Linked DNA regions of Homo sapiens: regions 2, 3, 4 and 5 are each linked to region 1. The links are contacts of gene promoters, found by promoter capture Hi-C in human tissues and cell types (Jung and others, 2019). All regions are on one chromosome and are shown on one strand. The core of a region is centred on a gene start or on the middle of the fragment in contact, and the rest is flanking DNA. Distances in the headings are between cores, read along the strand shown.

Region 1 (2,555 bases), core at 56-2,555:
TAGAAGATTAGCTTTCTCAAAGTAGAAATCCAAGCCTCCCTATAAAATTGTTGTCCCTTGCAAATGTTTTGAAACTTTACATTTTTTGATCCCCCAACAACAGGCCATACCAAGAAACCTCAGGAAAGTAATAATCTATTTTAATTGTTTTTTTTTTTTTGTTACTCAAGAAAGCTTTCAAAGTTCAGATATTAACACTGATGTGCAATACCAAATTGTTAGCCCCACAGGACAGATGGAAACAGGAAAAGTCAGATGGTTGGCACTCAAAAGCAAAAGCAATTAAGCAGTTGAAAGTGGGTTGGATTGTCGGTTTATTTTTGTTCCATTTGAACGAATCAAGTGAGAGACATAGACTCTTGCAAGGAGGAAATCAAGTCAAACTTGACGCTTCCTCTCTCTGACAGCCCAAGCTGGACTGGTTGTCTACTCCCCTTATTCAGTTTAATTGCTTTATGTGCTCTGATTTTCGCAGAGCTTGTATTCTATCTTGTTTACGTTCCCCCCCCCCCCCATATCCCTCTCCCCAACAGAAAGAAATCTTTCTCCTTTCTTCACTCCCCCTCTTTCCTCTAAGAAAGGCAATCCTCTCCAGGAGGAGAAAGAAACGCTGTGCGTGCTTAGGGTGGGAGGAGGGCGAGAGGGGAGGTGTGGGAGAGAAAGAGAGAAAAGATTGAGATTGGGGGTGGGGGACGGAGGAGAGAGAACAAGAGAAGGAAAGAGGAAGCAAGAAGATGGGGGATGCCCAACATCAACTCCAGGCTCTAAATCACGGGCGCTGTGCAAAGTGCTTTTCCAGGAGATGCACATGTAGTCTCATATTTCTCACAATAGGCCACCCGGGGATCCCTCCCTAGGTCTCAGACTCCCACCACTAAAACCCAAGTGTATCGAGAAGAAAATCTTTGGGATGGATTCGAGCAGATAGGCACCGCCGAGGTGGCCGCGCCGCCAGTCCCGCTTCCTTACCTGGAGGGCGGACCGGGAGGTGGTGCCGGGTCTCGGTCCCCAGTGCTCTCCCCGCGTGGACCGGCGCGAGGCACACGCGTACTCTCGCTGCCTCCGCTCTTGGAGGGGCAGCCTGCAACACAAAAGGGGTGTGTGGGTGTGGGTGTGTGGGAGGTTTTCCAGGGCCACCAGCTGGTCCCACGTGGTCGCCCCCACCCTACACACACCCCTTCGGGGCGCCAAGCCCCCCTCTCGGCTGAGCACCACCCTGGGGACTTGCCCGGGGTGCAGCCTCAAGTTGCCGCTGCTAACTGCTGCTGCCGCTGCCGCTGCTGCAGGAGGAGGTGGAAAGACACTGGGGGCAGTACTCGGTCTAGAGCATCCCCACACTGCAGCTTCTCCAGGAATCCCTCCAGTGAGGAGGCGGCCGCCCATCATCTCCGAGCCCCAGCATCCTGATTGGCTCCACCTCGGGTACGCTGCGCCAAGGAGCCAATCCCCGCGCACTAATAATAGGTGGATCCGTTCAGCCAACATCGCCCATCCCAGTTCTGTTAGTGTCTCTCCATCCCCACAGCGGACAGGGACCTGGGAAGCGGGGTGGAGGCGGGTTGGGGGAGGGGGTGAAGTAAGAGGGGAACAGATCCCAAGGAGACACAATCAAGGGCGTCTGATAAAACCTCTAGGTAGACTCAGGAATGCCCCACAAGCTGTTCAGCAAGCAGTATGCACAGGAGAAAGAGAGCATAATACAAAGCTTTTTTTTTTTTTTTTTTACTCTCAATCAAAACCTACCCTGATACTGAGCATGCCCAGACTGCAACAGCGACCTAGGAGTTTCGATGTGTGTGGGTTCGCCAGCTGTGGGTTTTTGAAAAGCTGGGACCGGGGACAGGAGAGGTAGAAGTTTGTCTTTGGCCATTTAACCCGGCGGAGTTGTGAAAGCTGGGTAGGGTGGGGATGTGAAAGGGTTCCGCACAAGTGTCCTCAAACTGAGCCGCGGGGAGGTGGCCCACCTGGCTGCCGGAGGCTCATCATGCTGTTCTTCTGGGGTTCCGGGTTGGAAGCGGGGGCGGGATAAGCTGAGCTTTGCTGGAAGCCTGGGGACTTCCCGCGAAGGGTGCGGTGGAGCCGAGATGCGGGAGAAGCAGCTCCGTCCCATAGGTGGGGCCGGGAGCGCGACTCCACCCATCAGCGGCGGCTGCCAGGCCGTGGAGAGTGCACTGGGAGTTTCCATTGCAGCGACCAATAAGTTTGTACACTTGGGTCAAGTGCAACATTGTTGGAGATGCTTTTTTATTTTTTCATTTTTATTTTTTGCCACCTCCCTCCCCCATCTCTCTCGACCCCTTGCCAGAGCAGTGACGACTAAAGCATAGATTCTCTCCCTGCTTCCTCTCTTCCCAGCTGAACCGTTCTGCTCGGAAGTAAGAAGCTTTTCTCTTGTGAGGGCGGTGGTGACCTGATTGTCTCTAAGCTCTCAGGCAATTTATAGCTTGGTAATACCGAAATACCGAACAGGAAGGCTCAGCGGGTGGGGGAAGGGACCGCGCGCCAGGCTAGGGGCGGGAGCGGAGCCCAGCTGGGAGAGGGGCCCGTCCATTATC
Region 2 (2,555 bases), core at 18-2,517, 300 kb before region 1:
AATTACTTCAAAAAAATGAGGCACTGGAATTAATGGGTTAATATCTGTAAAGTGTTCTTAGGATGGCATTTTTTAGAAAAACATTTGCAAATGGAGAAAATCACAGACTTCCTGCTGTCCCTTGATTCATCCATAATTTCAATGGGACTCTCACTTAAAACTATCTACATTGTTGAAAACCCATTTAATTTCTCATTCACAAAAGCATTCAACTGGTGATTGCTGCAAACAGGGAAAATTGCTGCTCAAGTGTTCCAGATGCCTTGAAAAGAATGTCGAAAACTTAAAGATGAGGGAATTAATGGCCACAAAGATATGGGAAAGCTATTTAGAAACTTGACTGTTGATTATTATCACTGAGGCCTCGTTAAATTAGAAAATGTTATCTGCTAATTAAGGCAAACCTATAGATAATTACCCTCTCATCTCATTTTATCTTATACACATTCAGTAAACAATGTCTGGTTGTGACCTCAAAATCACATCCTTGCTAACCTCAAACAACATGATAACTATGTCCAAGAGCAAGAATTTCCAAAGACAAAGCTCCAGTTTAAAACATTTCATGAAAAAGACCTCAGAAAATTGTGTTATTTTCTCACTGTAACAAACTCTGTCCTTTGTCTTCCCAGTGACTATATCAGAAAAATTTAAAATGTAAATTTAAAATTAAAATGTCACCAGTAAAAACTAGCAATATTCTGTGTGAAAGAGAATAGTTAAGTTTAGTGCTGGGTGTGCCGTCCCATCTTTGCCAGATCAAACTATCACTTGGTGGGTTTATTAAGAATAAAGATTACTGAGACACTTAATAAACTCTCACTTTTTTGAGACCCAAGCATTTGCCTGACACGGTTTTGGTTCACTTGTGTTGATTATAATGCTGAATCTTTACAACAACCCATTGAGTTAGGACTTCCCTCACAGATGAGGAAACTGAGGCTTAGGGAGGTAATCTGACAACTTTCACTCAAATAAGGCTCTAACCAGATCTAGTTGTCTCTCTTAAGCTCCCTGTCTCTTTACATTTCTAAAGGAATAACTAGAAGACAAAGAAGTTAAGTACATACATATGTATTAGACCAGAGGTCCCCAAACTCCTGCCAGGGATGGGTACCAGTCCATGGCCTGTTAGGAACTGGACCGCACAGCAGGAGGTGAGTGGCAGATGGAGAATGAGCATTACTGCCTGAGTTCTGCCTCTTGTCAGATCAGCAGAGGCATTAGATTCTCATAGGATTGTGAACCCTGTGGTGAGTGAACCCTATTGTAGACTGCACATGTGAGGGATCTAGGTTGTTACGCTCCTTATGAGAATCTAATGCCTGATGACCTGACATGCAACAGCTTCATTCCCAAACCACCCCATTCCCAGCCCGCTGCATCCCCCAGGGAAAAATTGTCTTCCATGAAACAAGCCCCTGGTGCCAAAAATGTTGGGGACCGCTGTATTACACTATAAGCATAATTATTCTTAATTCTTAATGTTTTAATTGCAATTTATTAGATTTTGGGGGAAAGTATAGCCACAAATATTCAGTCCCTGACATTTCACCTTCTTGTTTCTTTGGTAAAAATAATTAAAGACCATTTTCCACATAGTAGGCTTAATAAGTTTCAGTAATACATTCTAGGGTAAGTCATTTGATATTTATTCTGTGATTCTTCGTATTATCAAATTTTATGTTTCTCAAGTATATAAGCTTGAGGGAATAGAAGTAAACATTTACATTCTTTTGTAGTATACCTTTCAAATCCATTTCCACTACACACAAGCACACACAAACACACACATTCTCCCAGAAATCAGGACATAAGACAATGCTTTCTATACAACTGATTCTCAATAAAAAGTATTATTCAGGCTAGGAATGAGATTTAACCATAAAAGTGGCTTATAATGCAAATTTTAGTTTTGGGTTTATTTCCTTTATATCTTGTAGATACCCAAAGTATGCCCTACGTCTTCTTGAAATCCTAACATTTTCAAGGGCAGGACTTTGTCCTTTTCATAGGGAATCTGAGATCGCAATATGGTAAGTATTCAACAGAAGAACTCAGTTCAATTCTCAATCCTTTCTACATAGATTTTTCACTTAAACAATTGTATTTATTTTGTTGTAAATGTCATTCCTTTACTTATGCCATATTTAATAAGTACTCTATTAACAATCTGTTACACTATTAGCATTATGCTTCATTGTTTATAAAGCACTTTCATTATAGATCTCATTTTGTTTGAGGTGATTTACAAAACAGCACTGTGGTAGAAATTATATCCTCGTTTTACATGTAAAAAGTATGACACAGAGGAATTAAATTTAAATGATTTACTCAAAATAACATGGCTAGCAAAACTGAGTTTTTTCAACTACCAAGTCCAAGGATCCTTCCACTGTGCAAAGGCATCTCTAAAGCTTCCCGTATAATCCAACCAACATTTGTATAGCATCTGGAGTCTTTCATACACATCATCTCATTTGATCCTCACAAGACCCAGGGAGGTAGGTATTTTTATACCTATTTTGATGTCAATTGCATTTCTAAAAATAGAA
Region 3 (2,555 bases), core at 29-2,528, 290 kb after region 1:
TAGGATAATGGTCTCTAGTTTCATTCATGTCTCAAAGACATGATTTTATCCTTTTCATTGCTGAGAACTATTCCACGGTAAAAATATGTAAAATGTTTCTTTATCCAATCATCTGTTGATAGACAGTTAGGTTGATTCCATCTTTGCTATTGTGAATAGTGCTGCAATAAACATATGGGTACAGTTATCTTTTTGGTATGATGATTTCCTTTCCTTTGGGTACATACCTAGCAGTGGGATTGCTGTGTATAATGATGGTTCTATTTTTAGTTCTTTGGGAAATCTCCATAGTGTTTTCCATAGAGGTTGCACTAATTTACATTCCCACCAACAGTGCATAAACATTTCCTTTTTTCTGCATCCTTGCCTATATATGTTATTTTTTGACTTTTTAATAATAGCCATTCTGACTGGTGTAAGATGGTTATTTCATTGTGGTTTTAATTTGCGTTTCTTTGATGACCAGTGATGGTGGCATTTTTCAACATGTTTGTTGGACGTTTGTATGTCTTCTTTTGGAAAATGTCTGTTCATGTCCTTTGCCCACTTTTGAACGGGATTAATTGTTTTCGTTTTTTTTTCTTGTCCTTTGCCCACTTTTGAACGGGGTTAATTGTTTTTGTTTTTTTTCCTGTTGAGTTGTTGAGTTCCTTGTAGATTCTGGCTATTAGCTCTTTGTCACATGCATAGTTGGCAGATATTTTCTCCCATTCTGTAGTTTGTCTGTTTACTCTGTTAATCATTTATTTTGCTGTGCAGAAGCTTTTTAGTTTAATTAAATCCCATTTGTATATTTTTGTTTCGTTATATTTGCTTATGAGGACTTAGTCACAAATTATTTGCCTAGTCTAATGTCCAGAAGAGTTTTTCCTGGTTGTCTTGTAGGACTTTTTTAGTTTTGGGGCTTACATTTAAGTCTTTAATCCATTTTGGGTTTATTTTTGTATATAGTGAGAGATATGGGTTGTGTGTGTGTGTGTGTGTGAAACATATATAAATAACACACACATATACATACACATATATATGTATAAACACATATATGAATACACACATATACATACACATAAAGTTGCCAATCAAGGAGCAAAAAACCCCACAAAATTTCTGAAAACTACCAAAAATCTTGAAGTTGATAAATGAGAATCTCATAATCTCTGAAATTTTTCATAATTTACATTCTTCCACATTTATTCTCTCAAACAGTTTATGGAGCGCCTACTAAATACTGGGATTTTTAATATAATGACTGTCATTAGGCTTGCAACTTAGAATGGGAAAAGAGAGTATGCCTATAAATAAATAGATAAGCATATGATTATGAATTGTGCTAATGAATCTAATAAAGAAGAGGCACAGAAGCTGACAGGGGAAGCATGCTTAGACGGTATGGCCAAGGAAAACCACCATGTGTCTATGACAGTGATGCCAGACTTGAACGAAGAATGGAGGCGGCTGTGAAATGATCAGGGCAGAAGCTCACCAGGAAGAGGAGGAGTCTAGACAGTAGCCTCAAATTAAGAAAGGTCCCAGAATGACCAAGAATATGAAGGGAAACTCTTGCAGTTCAAGCAAGGTGGCCAGGAGGAAAGTGAAATAAGTGATTTATCTACTTGATTTCAGACGAGGAATTTAGCAGACTTTTCATTTTTGGAACCAATGTTACACTCCATCAGTGAGAAGAACAAGATAGCAATATTTTTATGTGTGATGTCTTGTATGCAAATTTGTAGATTATTGCTCACATTTTCACTCTCTAGCTATGTGGTCCTAGAGCTTGTTTGTGTCTCCATAGCTTCACTCCTTGCTCACGACTCCTTATTTATTTCCAGAATGCTAATCAGGACTACAAATAATATTCCAACCCAATTACCATACTTCCCAGGGTAGTGCAGTTTATTAGAATAATTATTAAAAAGCACTTATCACAGCTGAGCTCAACCCTTCCTAATCATAATTTCAACCAATAAGTCATTTTAATGTTTTTAACCAAGACATTTTCTGGGAGACTTTTTCTTTATTCATATCTTGAATCAAACCACAATACATTAGCCTTCCTATAATTTTCCCCAAAATTAAAAAGTAGAAAATACATCTACATAGTTTACTTGAAATGTCAGGAGAAATCCTGCTAGGCAAGAGCAGATATAGTATATCTCAGCAGGGTATAGGCCTTACCTAGTTGTGAACATGTATTAACAAATGTTAAATATAATTAAGAGCTAAAGTAAAACAAGAAAAATATGAGCATGCAGTCGTGATAGGGAAAATCCCATTTCTTATTGCTATGATCTGATCACATTTCCCATAGAGTATAAAAGACATGCAATTTTTGAGCATGTCACAGTAATATTAATAAATGATGTTCCAAAGCTTGTCTCCTGAGAGGTCATTCAGTCTTTACCATTGAATAGTTTTGCTTTTGCCAAATGAAAGCAGATTGTTACATGATTAGGTGAATGTGTGTGCGTGCACCCATGTGGGTGGTTTATATGTATTATGTTTCCAGCCTTCTGTGAATCCTGTACATAATAGAGGTCTGATAAAACATGCTG
Region 4 (2,555 bases), core at 41-2,540, 280 kb before region 1:
GCAGTGAGCTGAGATCGTGCCATTGTGCTCTAGCCTGGGCGACAGAGTGAGACTCCATCTCAAAAAAAAGTAGTAGATATATGCTGTTTAGCCTTTTATCTCCTTTACTTTGTAGACACTTTACACAATTTTTTTAAAACCCAGGTCAGATCTAAAAACGTTCAGAAAACATCCTTTGATGAACTTCAATGGCCTCTGTTTATTCTTCTACCATATCATTTCATAAGGTCATGTTTTAAAGTTTATTATTTTCCAGAATTGTTGAAGTACAGACACTCCTTTTTGTTTAATTATTAATGTCTCCTGGCTTCTGAGGTGAATGTCTGGAGAAGATTAGCATTTCACACTACTCAAAGCATTGTCTTCTCAAACTGGAAGTTTGGGTTAAGGCCTCTGTACTGTGGTGTGGTGGTGTTGTAGGCTTTGAAGTCAGAATGAGGGTTGAATTCTAAAACTTTCATAATTATCTGTGTGGTCTTCAGAAAGGTAATGAACTTTCTTAGGCCTCAGTTTTCTCTAAAGTGACGAAGATTGAATGAGACAGTACAGGGAAAGAGCCTGACATACAGCTGACAGTTCCAGTCCTTCCAATGGACTGTTTCCTACAACAACATTAATTGACATTGTCTTGTAACTTGCGTTCTACTCTAAAGTGTGAGGACGGAGTAGTGTGTTGTCTGAGGGTGTATGAATGTGCTGCCTGTCTGTGGGAATATGTTTAGGGCTGAAAGATGGTTAGGACACAGGCTGTACATTCTCATGATTAAAAACTCCTTGAAGTCTGAAGTGGTTTTTGTTTTGTTGTTGTGCTGTTAGCTTTTTGCTTTTCCCTCTCCTCCACAGGACTTAAAACACTATGTTTAGGCCGGGCGCGGTGGCTCACGCCTGTAATCCCAGCACTTTGGGAGGCCGAGGCGGGCGGATCACGAGGTCAGGAGATCGAGACCATCCCGGCTAAAACGGTGAAACCCCGTCTCTACTAAAAATACAAAAAATTAGCCGGGCGTAGTGGCGGGCGCCTGTAGTCCCAGCTACTTGGGAGGCTGAGGCAGGAGAATGGCGTGAACCCGGGAGGCGGAGCTTGCAGTGAGCCGAGATCCCGCCACTGCACTCCAGCCTGGGCGACAGAGCGAGACTCCGTCTCAAAAAACAAACAAACAAACAAACAAAAAAAAAAAAAAACCACTATGTTTAAATCTTGGGTTCTGGGGTCCAACTATTTGGGTTTGAAAAATTAGCTGTGTTATATTGGGGAAGTTATATAAAACATTTGTGCCACAATTTACACATTTGCAAAACTAGGCTGTTGGTAATGATGTCAATCTCATTGGGTTGTTGTCATGAGTAGTAAATTTTAATATGTAAAATCATTAAAAATGGTCATGGTGTTTTGGACATTGTAAGCATACATACCATACACTTGTTAGCTATTACTAATTATTGCATGTAAAGAATTAGATAAAAAATTATTAAAGTCATAGAAAGAATCAGATAAAAATAAATATTAATTTAAATATTTCTGATGAGTTATGAAGATTATGATCTTTAAAATTCACATATAACAAAATGACAAAGGTTGTTAATTCATATTTTTTAAAAATGTTAATATTCTAAATAAAATTAGAAAAATATGTTTTTAATCAAGATGAGTCAAAGCTATAGAGATTTATAAAATTAGATAATATATTATTAAGCATGTATAGTACACATTCCAGAATATTAAGTGGATTTGTTACCATCTAAAGCATTTAAGGGAAGAGTAGAAATGAACAAGAGTAGTAATTTGGATGCTGTCCTGTGTACTTTTATATGCATTATCTAGCTTGATCCTCATTAATATTCCAATATTATGGAGTAAAGTGATGTTCTTTATTTTCTATACAGGTAAACTGAAGCTTAGAAAGTTGCTAATACCAAGGTTCTTGCTCTTTCTATGATGTTTGTAGGAAAAAAACAAATTGTCCAGGGCAAGGTCAGACTCTGAAACTCTTCGTTACTGAGGGTACCAAGCTCTGAATGTGTTAAACACTAACATGACACAAAATTTAGAAAGTGCCTTCAGGCTATAGCTAAATAGGATGAAACAGTGTTTTGATTTTGACAGTGCAGATGGATTCAAGAGTATTTCTCCCCTGAAAAGGTAAAACAGAATTATTGGTAATTTAAAGTGAAAGCTTATTAGAAGCTTATCCCACGCCAATTTCTTGGGAAATAAGTCTCTTAAACGAAATGAGCCAGGGTGTGAAGAGGTTTGAGAGGTATTCTGGTCTTCCTAGTGTCGGGTCAATAGTTGCACTGGCTGACCCAGATGATGGGTCTTGTTGCAAGAGCCATCTACCTCCTGGTGCTGTCTAGCCCAGTTTGTTTGTAAATGGGAATTGTACATCCTGGGCCATGGATGCCTGGCATCTGGATGCTCTTGGAAAGGGTCCTTGCACAGAAAATCAGAAGCCTCTTTCCCTTATCCCAATGTGGGCTGAGGAAACTGCTGAGACATGCCCTTCTGGGCGGTGGGGTAAAAAAGGAAGCGTCTTACTGAAAAATGTCAGGGAAGG
Region 5 (2,555 bases), core at 42-2,541, 270 kb after region 1:
TATTTGTGTATTATTTGTGCATGTGACTTTATATCTGTTAATATAATTTATTCTCATTGCAATGTTTTTAGTTTAATAGCAGGGCCTCAATACCCCTATTTTTGAGATTAAGAAACTGAGGCACACAGAAATTAAGAAAATTGGTAAAAGTCAAGCAGTCACTTAATGACCAAGCAAGAACAACAACATCAGCATCAACAAGAAAAATACATTGTTCACTTAACATGAATAAAGCACTGGGTGTGATTCTCCATTTCCAGTTTTTATTAAGATGTGGCAATGAGATTTATATATATTAATATATGAGATTTATGTATATTAATATATGACAACACGTTGCAATATATGCAACATATACAAACATGTGAAAAGTATGCAATCATGAAAGGCACTGGTATCAACCAGGTTTGAATTTGTGTAAATGTTTTAATAGTTCAGTGTCAGAGTTTCTCTACTTACAATGCCTGCCAAGGAATTGTGAAGAGAAAAATGAATGTTTAAAAATGGTGAAAAACTTCCTGGAAAACACGTAATATAATATTTTATAACTATATTATTTTTTCTATAAGAGTACCATAAAACCAAATATTTTATAAAAGTATTGCCTTTCATTTTCCCACCTTCAAAGGTAGACTGTACCGTGACGTTATTTGATGTTCAGTGAACTGCGAGCTGTGCTGAAAAGAATGGATCTTGACAGCCTCTTCAACTTCTATTGCCTCCTTTTTTCTGTCAAAAGTACCTACCTATATTAGCTTCTGGGAACCTCTCTTCTTTGCTGTTGTGCTCTGCATTTTATTGATGAATTTGTAATACAGCTTAGACTACTAAGAATTACAAAGATTGATTAGGATTTCTAAAAATGTTCCTCTCATCTCTGGTTGTCTGATGTGATGCTTTGAGGCCAGGAACAAAAGCAGCATGAAGGATGCTAGCAAAGGAGAAAGCAGAGGTGAGAGCCTTGGTGGAAATACACCCTCCCTCGGGACTTTTTATATTAGGGATAATTTAACCCTTTATTTTTTAAGGCAAATTGACTTTAAGTTTCTCTTGATTTCAAATAATAGTTAACAAAATAATATAGCGGATAAGCTAATTTAGAGAGTATTTAGTGGATTAATAGGTAGCTATTAATTTGATTAATTGGTAGCTACAACTTGTATTGATTATTAATTTGCCTCTATAATATACATGACATGAGAATTATATTTGCATTGCATCATAACTTTTAATTTATCTCTTCTGCACTGTAAGTTCCAAGAAGTTAAATAACAGTGTTTGCATTATAGTCAATAACCCTACACCTATTACAGTTTGTGGTAAAAAGTAGGTATTCCCTAACACTTTGTAAGAAGAAAAGAAGAAATAAGAGAGGAAGGAAGAATAGAGGGCAGAGTGGAAATCAGTCCACCATTGTTCCTAACTCAGAGACAGGGAGTAAGTACAGTAATTAAATTATTGTGAATACTTTAAAAATACAATAAAAATTGTACAAACAGCCCAAAGAATATCCATTATGAGTCTTTTAAATGTTAACATGGAATGCATTTTTTAAATAAAAATAAAAGGATTACAGAACGATAATACAAGATAAAAGTTGTTTTGAAATTTTACTCAACCTGAACATGTAAGGCATAAACTCACTCTTTGTCTAATATATAGTAAGTACAAGTTACAAATGCTGCATTCAACATTAAAAGCTGTATCTGTTTTAGGATGACCTTATTAACAATCACTACAAATTTCACAACTGTCAGAACAAGTAGGACTAGATTCTTAAAATTCAGATTCAGTATTTTGAGGTACTCTATTTCAATTTACCTTTTTTCTTTCACAACAACTAAAAACAGTCAATTCTATCATCACTTATCTACAGGTGATCCTTGAAAGAACACTCATCTAAATAACAGGGTAAATATTGCTTTAACTTGATCTACAACAATTCCCTGCAAAGGAAGAGTACTTCAAACACCTAATGGCTTGAACGTGAACACTTCATTAACATATGTTCAAATCTTATTTTCTCAAGTAAGATGAGAACCCTTTGGGAATGTTTTGACACTTGCTATGATAGAAGATTTCAGCCCATTCTTATCAAAACTGCTAAGTCCTTTAACTGTTTTGATGTCTCTAAAGTATGTCCACTGTCAGACATAGTATTAGCTTGAATACATTATGAAATAAAAATGCTAGTTTAATGAATACCTGCGTAAAGGTACGCTTCTTTCAAGATTCTTATAAGGCTTAATATTTTACCCGTTTAAGGGCAATCACAATTATCTTGGCACTTTAAATATACTTTTAATTTTCTATCTCTTACTTGTTTGCAAACAGATGATTCTGATGCATTAAGTGTCTATTTTGATCTTTGTAATAGAAGAAATAGGAAACTTGGTATGTATGTCTGAAATCTGTCACCCTAACATTAGCTATATGTTTTTGATGTATTAAATTTTATATAACTAAGTACCTCTTAAAGAACTGATGGTTATAAGTGATACATTTTGACCAGCAATCCTCCTTTGGCCATCAAGTCTTATTTTGCAGATCAAAGC

The links. The method cuts DNA at HindIII sites, captures the fragments that hold promoters and counts their contacts. A contact is called where the count stands out against the background at its distance.
Region 2: a contact is called between a fragment that was not itself captured here and the fragment with the promoter of SYT1 in region 1, in 5 of the 25 tissues and cell types used here (dorsolateral prefrontal cortex, hippocampus, lymphoblastoid cells and 2 more).
Region 3: a fragment that was not itself captured here is called in contact with the fragment with the promoter of SYT1 in region 1 in 1 of the 25 tissues and cell types used here (dorsolateral prefrontal cortex).
Region 4: a contact is called between a fragment that was not itself captured here and the fragment with the promoter of SYT1 in region 1, in 2 of the 25 tissues and cell types used here (dorsolateral prefrontal cortex and mesenchymal stem cells).
Region 5: a fragment that was not itself captured here is called in contact with the fragment with the promoter of SYT1 in region 1 in 5 of the 25 tissues and cell types used here (dorsolateral prefrontal cortex, mesenchymal stem cells, mesendoderm cells and 2 more).

The regions. Positions count from the first base shown.
Region 1 is chr12:78,863,524-78,866,078 of GRCh38, reverse strand. It overlaps SYT1 (synaptotagmin 1), which reads right to left and starts at 1,305. Exons shown (of 11, transcript NM_005639.3): 1 at 970-1,305. RefSeq lists a silencer at 2,462-2,521. The HindIII fragment of the contact is 3,235 bases long and covers 941-2,555 here.
Region 2 is chr12:79,166,648-79,169,202 of GRCh38, reverse strand. The region is part of intron 3 of SYT1 (synaptotagmin 1); the gene reads right to left. It overlaps LOC124902973 (a long non-coding RNA gene), which reads left to right. Exons shown (of 2, transcript XR_007063386.1): 1 at 1-2,555. Among named protein-coding and RNA genes, the nearest start is that of MIR1252, 250 kb to the left of the region's middle. The HindIII fragment of the contact is 6,622 bases long and covers 1-2,555 here.
Region 3 is chr12:78,576,928-78,579,482 of GRCh38, reverse strand. No RefSeq gene overlaps it. Among named protein-coding and RNA genes, the nearest start is that of LINC02424, 220 kb to the right of the region's middle. The HindIII fragment of the contact is 5,047 bases long and covers 1-2,555 here.
Region 4 is chr12:79,144,365-79,146,919 of GRCh38, reverse strand. All of the region lies in intron 3 of SYT1 (synaptotagmin 1), which reads right to left. LOC124902973 (a long non-coding RNA gene) reads left to right here. Exons shown (of 2, transcript XR_007063386.1): 2 at 1-786. Among named protein-coding and RNA genes, the nearest start is that of MIR1252, 270 kb to the left of the region's middle. The HindIII fragment of the contact is 6,517 bases long and covers 1-2,555 here.
Region 5 is chr12:78,597,792-78,600,346 of GRCh38, reverse strand. No RefSeq gene overlaps it. Among named protein-coding and RNA genes, the nearest start is that of LINC02424, 240 kb to the right of the region's middle. The HindIII fragment of the contact is 6,803 bases long and covers 1-2,555 here.